Linked DNA regions of Homo sapiens: region 1 is linked to region 2. The links are contacts of gene promoters, found by promoter capture Hi-C in blood cells and fetal thymus (Javierre and others, 2016). All regions are on one chromosome and are shown on one strand. The core of a region is centred on a gene start or on the middle of the fragment in contact, and the rest is flanking DNA. Distances in the headings are between cores, read along the strand shown.

The links. The method cuts DNA at HindIII sites, captures the fragments that hold promoters and counts their contacts. A CHiCAGO score of 5 or more calls a contact.
Region 1: a contact is called between a fragment that was not itself captured here and the fragment with the promoter of EGF in region 2, in 3 of 17 cell types (total CD8 T cells, naive B cells and erythroblasts). The highest score is 6.2, in total CD8 T cells.

The regions. Positions count from the first base shown.
Region 1 is chr4:109,410,398-109,413,955 of GRCh38, reverse strand. No RefSeq gene overlaps it. Among named protein-coding and RNA genes, the nearest start is that of SEC24B, 22 kb to the left of the region's middle. The HindIII fragment of the contact is 221 bases long and covers 1,931-2,151 here.
Region 2 is chr4:109,911,098-109,914,677 of GRCh38, reverse strand. It overlaps EGF (epidermal growth factor), which reads right to left and starts at 1,795. Exons shown (of 24, transcript NM_001963.6): 1 at 1,216-1,795. The coding sequence starts at 1,342. The HindIII fragment of the contact is 2,188 bases long and covers 946-3,133 here.

The DNA.
Region 1 (3,558 bases), core at 792-3,291, 500 kb after region 2:
ATTTCTCATAGAACCATCTACCTCTCCTTGTAGCACTCATCACAGTTGCACTTGTATATTTATTTTTGTTGTTATTTGATTATTATCCATCTTTTCTAATGTGTACATAGAAGAAAGAGAAGAAACCCCCTTCCTACATATATATTTTTTGTTTTCTTAACACTTGTTGTAGATGGTGATTGATCATTTATACAGGAGATTGCCTAAATAATGTATCTTTCGGAACAGACCATTTTTTATTTGTTCATTATTATTCTGCACCACCTTCCATACCTAGAACTTTTCCTGATACCTACTAGGAGCTTAACAATTAATCATTGAATGAAATGATAGCCAAGTTGATTAGACTTTTCCTTCTCAATTCTAAAGAATTGCTGATTTCAATGAGTGCCTAAGTAGCACTGGAAATAACATGTCAGGATGTCTGAACACTTCCTTTCTCCTTTGTCTTCTAGCTTTATCTTAGTCTCTTTCAAAATCTCAGTTGCAGGATGGGTATGCTTCTAGCACTTTGAGATGGAGAGTTTCACGGATTCCCATGATCTTGCTTTAGTGTGCTTATCTGCTTATCTCTCTTCATGTCCACTCACCTATGGGCCCTTTCCTTTTCTGTCTGTCACTTATATAGCTCATGTTCAAATCCCCTCTTCTCCTCTTCTTAGGCCAGTCTCATAATGTTTCCGACATCTGGTATGGTTTAAAGGAACTCTTGCCTGGAAATAGAAGTTCTTTCCAGACCATGATATAAATTTCTAGTAAAAGCAAATGAATGAATATATAGCAAGAAACAACAATTCACAAGGAAGTTGCCCTGGAAGTGGGCTGTTGTAGTAAAAGGAGGCATTTGCCTGTTACTGAGTCCCAATAGCCTGATCACTCTTGCCCAATCAGGAACTTTCTGTCACATTGTGCTGTTTGCCATTGCAGTGCTCAGCAGACTGAGGATTACAGTATGTGCATTGGCACTTGTTATACAGCAAGTGCAAACAGCTGGGTTTCTTGCTGTTCATGAGTGCCAAGATATTATTCCTCATAAGACTTTTTAACTGCTTTTGCAGTTAGTAACATCAGTGCCTGGGAAATCAAACATTTTATCTAGTGGTTTGTTAACTTAATGCTATTTTCCAGATGTTTTTTAGGGCTGTTCCTCCAATGTTGATTTGTGGTGGCGTTGATATTTTCTTTCTATAGCATTTTATTATTTTTGAGCAGTGATATTTAATTTAGTTTGGGGAAATGTCTTTTCCAAACTTTTGTTTCTGATGACACACAGTTATTTTGAATCTTGTGTCAATCCCACAAACTACAGGACTTGGCCTGATTATAGACATGACTAGACAAAAGAAGCTCTAGAAGAGCTGCCACACCAGACTTTCACTTTTATTGAGGTTACCACTCACACTGATAGATTACAGGCCCATGGCATTTTAGAGTCAGAGACATTCTTTACTCAGATCCCCTCTTTATTCACAACAAAATAACTGGAACTTATAGATGTCAAATAATTTTACCTTAGCCCACACAGCTAGCTGTTAGTAAAATCAGAACTATGACCAGATCTCCTAGGTACAGGGGAGAGGAAACCTTTTTTCCATGCTTCTCACCTGGAGGCGTATGTGTGAATCCCCTTACCCCCTTTAGTGGCCTGAGGATTCATTCATTGGCAAAGAAGTCTCCTGACAGCATTTTGAAGAGGCAGAACAAACTCCTGCTGCCAGTCTACAGGAGCCATCACTCTTTCCCAGTGAGCAGCTGGCATGTGGCCAGCCTTCCCTTTCTGCAGCTTGGACTGCTAAAGTATCACGTGGATGGAGCAGCTCTGTGCAAAGCCACTTTTCCAGAACTGTTTCCATGTCTCCACTCCCCAATCCATCCTTCTCCCCACAAGCTCTCTCCTACCACACAAACACACCAAGGGCCTCTTAAAGCTTTCTCCATCCATAGTGAGAGAGAGAGGGGGGAAAGAATCAAGTTTGGTATGCTGGAACATACATGTGAGGCAGAAAAGTTCTGAAAGTTGAGAGCAGCTTATAAATAACTCAGGTTAGATGTTGCCGATGATGGGAAGTATATATAGGAAACACCATCATTTAAAAAATGTATTCTTTGAAAATGAAGAATGACAGCATACAGACCAAACTCCCAAAAGCTTAACAGAAATTCTCATAAAACTGTAGGTAGACTTACATTATATTACACAAATTTTAAACTCTGGATCTGGGCCGAAAACATCACCTGCTTTAGGTCTTCAAATAGACACTTAAGAGCTATGGAATAGTACAATTGACCGGGAAAACACTTTAAGATTTGGTTGTAATCTACAGACTGTCAGCTTAGGGGTAACTGGTAAAGTAATTTGTGCTCTCCTTTTGTCCATTTTAATTGATGATATTCCTCTGCAGCAAGCCTTACAGGAGAAATCGAAACACAGCTGCTACATTGTAAGTCCACAAGTGAAATAAGCAGTGTCCAGTGGATAACAAGAAGGCTCCCAGAATAGCTCCTCAAAAAATCTGCCTTCTTCCTTTACTACCAAGAATCCTAACCTGTAGGCTCAAAGATGATTCAAACATTGAGGGCAGTGGTACTTGGGATTCAAAGGCACATTGGTGCAGAAAGGAGCCCATAGCATGCTGTTGACAATTTGACCAGGTGAGTCAACAATAGCAAAGAAGGCCTAGAATATGAGCTTTGAAATCCGAGTGCAAAGTCACCCCTACGAGAATATACCTGATTTATTTTGTTTGATTATATTGACACTTTTGCTATTTGTCATCATTTCAGCATGCATGCACTTAGATTTGTTAGTCCCACTGTCCTGTAACATCTCCCAATCCAGAACACATTAATGATCAGTAGACTGTGGCTGTCCAGTTTGGTGTCACCTTTAAGGGGCTCCTCTCTCCACGTAGGCCAGGCAAGACTTCACTGCACATTTACAGAACAAGGACCTTCTGTCTCAGATGCCTGACTCACCAGCTCCACTGCCCTGCATTCCGTTCTCTCACTCTCTTGGCTTCCAGTGTTGTTGCCAGTGGTTTGGGTCCTCACCCTACTCTTTCACCTCAATGCTTAATATAGCCATGTTTGGCTTTTGAATTTGCTTTTCCTCTCATCTACATTTTCATCTCTCCACCGTGGCTTGAAGTAATCACAATTTTGGGATAACAAAGCCATTCTATGCTTGGCTTTGGTCAGTCCCTAGAATTTACCAAGTCACAGCCAGGTGAGGTGGCTCACGCCTATAATCCCAGCACTTTGGGAGGCCAAGGCGGGCGGATCATAAGGTCAGGAGTTCAAGACCAGCCTGGCCAACATGTGAAACCCCGTCTCTACTAAAAATACAAAAATTAGCTGGGCGTGCCGCCTGTAATCCTAGCTACTCGGGAGCCTGAGGGAGGAGAATTGCTTGAACCCAGGATGCGGAGTTTGCAGCGAGCTGAGATCGCGCCACTGCACTCCAGCCTGAGCAACAGAGTGAGACTCCGTCCCAGAAAAAAAAAAAAAGGATTTACCGAGTCACTTCCTGCCCTTTGTTATGGACTCACCACCAATCTG
Region 2 (3,580 bases), core at 546-3,045:
AAGAATTTGCTGAGTACACACTGTGGAAGCAGGAATGTCCTAGGTGCTGGGAACATAGAGATCACTAGGATTAAGTCTTTATTTCAAATACCCTAGAGTTCTGCTCACCTGTTACAAGGAGTGCTACCTGAGAACAGAGTCCAGAGATTCTGAGCAAAAGCACCTGATTTCCTCATCGGGAACTTCCTTAATGGGAGAGCCAGGACAGCAGCCTAGCTTTGGCAGTTTGGCTCCATTCTGCTCTCTTTATTCAAACTATTGCCTATTGTGTACTGTCTTCCATAGGTGTCTCTTCTGGAAACTGTACTGTGTTTTCCCCCTCAATCTACCTCTTTTTAAAAGCCAGACGCCATCTCAAAAGGGCAAGCTGATAAAAATGGAATGTCGGGGCAGCTATAACCTCTCATCAACAAAGGCGGCTGCCGTGTCTAAGCAGCAGGTTGGAGGCTCACCCAAGGATTAAATAAATGAATTAACAGTTAGAGAGAGAATGTTTTTCAGGCAATATCCTTTGGCAGGATTGTAATTCGCATTCAGTCAAGCTCCCATTTCCCCTTGGCAAAAAATTCATTTAATATGAGAGGACAGTGTGGCTTATTTACCCATTATCATATTTGGCAGTTCTTAAAGTTGCAATGCACCTGTTACTAAAACTCCGGAGTTGTGTCAGAGCCTCAGAAACAGTAAGAGTGGGGAGAAAGTGAAGGAGGTTGAAATTGAAATTTAGGTTAATTTTCACAACTACCTTTGTTCACAGTTCCCTTTCCATTTTTCACTAATTTTTAGAACTTCTGAATTCTTACAAGTTATCAGAAGGAAGGATTTTTTTCTTTGTGGCTTAAGAGTTTCAAACAGACAAACAAAAAATCAACCATCTGTTTCCCTAATTTCCAAGCAATTAGCCAGGTGTTAATTACTCCTCTTGTCAGAGTAAAAGCTGAAGCTTCCATGAAATGTTCTGCTAGTTTAAAATGAGGCATATTCATTCACTTATACACAGAAGTACAGTTTGAGAGTTATGAAGTTTTATAGTTGGTAGCAGATTAGCTCTAATGGCCAGTAAGAAAATAAACATGCATCAGAAAACAAAAATTAAGCAACTATACATACCCAAAGACAAACTTTGTTAAATGCCCAAGTATACCAGATTGAACCAACAGGGATGTGGGGGCAGTTTCCCGGAGACCTGGAGCACCTTTTCATTGGAGTACTTACCCACACAAGTAGAATTCCCATTTCCTGCGAGAGTACCTTCAGGACAGCTCCAGTGCTGCGGTGCTGAGAGACTAACAAAACTAAATTTTGAAACTACTGGCAACAGAATGATAAGAGTGAGCAGCATAATCTTGATGAGTTTGAACTTTCAAAAGAAAACAGCTTGATTTTGCTGGAGCATGGCCCGGGCAAGGTGAGTATGATTGACCCCAGATGCGGCTGCCTGAGCGGAGGCCTCAGCCCTGGGGCATCTTTTACTCTCCTGTTGTGCTGTTGTCCTCCAAGCTCTTTCTTCAACTGAGAGACCTTCTGAATGCAGCCTGCCAAGGGAAGCCACAGGAAAGATTTCTTTATCTATGTTTCTTTGGAAGCCAGTAAGAAATACCTGACACCCTTATGACAAATTTCACAGAGTTTAACAGCCCTGCTCTGGCTGACTTCACTGTGACAGAGCAAGGCAAAGGCTTAGAGAGGAAAAAGAAAGGAAGAACTGATGGAAAGTTCCAGCTACAACCCTTGGATTGGGGCTGAAAGAAGAAATATGGAGATACGATTCCTCTCCCAACAGTTTCTCTTTTTGAAAAGTGGAATGACTCAGCTTTGCTTTTTAAAGCTCTTCAGGCTCCACCTCCTTTCCTTTAGTGACACTTGAGTGAGCCTCTGTTTGCAAATGCGAATGTGGGCAATTCCTCCACACAGGAAAGCAGGGATGACTGCCAAAGAGGAGATAACTCGCTACTCACCATAAATATCCTGGGCAGAACTGGGAGAGAGGAGTTGGGGGCTGTGGAGGTGCTCATGGTGAATGGCGGGAACTGCTAAATATTGGCTATGTTTTAATGTCTGGAAGGATGGAGACAAAATTAAACCATGCAGTATAAATCAATAATAAGCAGCACTGTTGATAGTTTGGATTGATAATAATTGATCATTCACATGAGCAATAGTAAAGATAGTTCACCTTCAGCCCATTATTTGAACGAAATGTCAATACCAGTGCACATTCCAGGAGCTTTATCTTATTTTTCTCTTTCTCCTGTATAGTTTATAGCGGAATTTGAAAGATTATTCTTTCCAAATCAAAGGGAAATCCCTGAGGCCAAATGAAGAGATACAGTATGGACAGACACCTTTTCTTTCAGCATGAGCATGATAAAACATCACGAGGGGCCAGGAGTGCAGAGAAAGGAGTGGATTGTTATTATAGGGACATTGGAAAAAATAAGCTAACAGTGCAAAGCTGGGAAGCACTGGAAATCCAGCACAGAGGAATGCTTTTCCTTCTAAGATAATTTAGGCTTTTTTTTTTTCACATCTCTGTGATAGAAAATAAGAACTGGACGTATCTGTTAGCTGTCTCCTCAACCACTTTCTACTTGGAGCAACAGTGGTTATTTCTTCAGGAGTACAACTAGGGCCCAAAAATACCCAGAAGGCAAACAACTTATAGCAGATTTGATGCACGATGGAAATTTCTGTCAGTTTACTCCATCCTGGAAAATGGACTTTCATTTAAGTTACCCTGAGGTAGTGTTCCAAGTGCTGGTCAAAAATGTACGTAAAAGCAATAGTCACAAAAACAACTGTCACACTAGTGAACACCCCATTACAGAGGAGAACAGACTAACTCTAAGCCTTTTACTCATACTTAATTATGTCCTGATTATTCTCCAAAGACTGGATCACTTTCCTGAAACAGCTTAAGTCAGGATTTCTCCTATTTCAGCCAGCCTCTGCCAGGCAGCTCTGAACCCTTACAGGAGAAACAGACCCTGGGGAAGGGGGAAAGAGAAGTCCTTTAGGTGGTTATGCGGAATATTCCATTGCTTTCTGGACTGAGTCAGACTCAAGACTCATAATGAGCATCCTACAAATAACCTGCACTGACTCTTCGAGTTACTAACTTTATTAATAAGCTTCCCTTTCAGCACAATACATTGCCAGCATCCCAGATGACAGCAATGGAAGGGGCTTAGAGGACAATCAAGCATCACGCTGTGTCAGTGGAGTGGAGTGGAGAGAATGATATGAAGACAAACATGAAATGATCCACAGCTCTGTTCTGTTTGGATTTGGAATCTCTCATATTATTTTTGGTTGGAAAAAGGTTTGCTTTCTTAATTACATGTCACCTGGGCTAATGTTGTCATTAATGTTGAGTACAAGCTCCCTAGGAGATGACGGAGTCAACAGAGGTATAGCAGATGCTATGGCTGATGACTGATGATGAAAATCAATCGCAGCTAATTCATCATCTACAGTTGCCCAGATAGCAAAATCATAGGACAGAGCTACCCAACTGGGAAGGATTTACAGAGATATTTAATAAGTTTATATTCCAGCCGGGCGTGGTGGCTCATGCCTG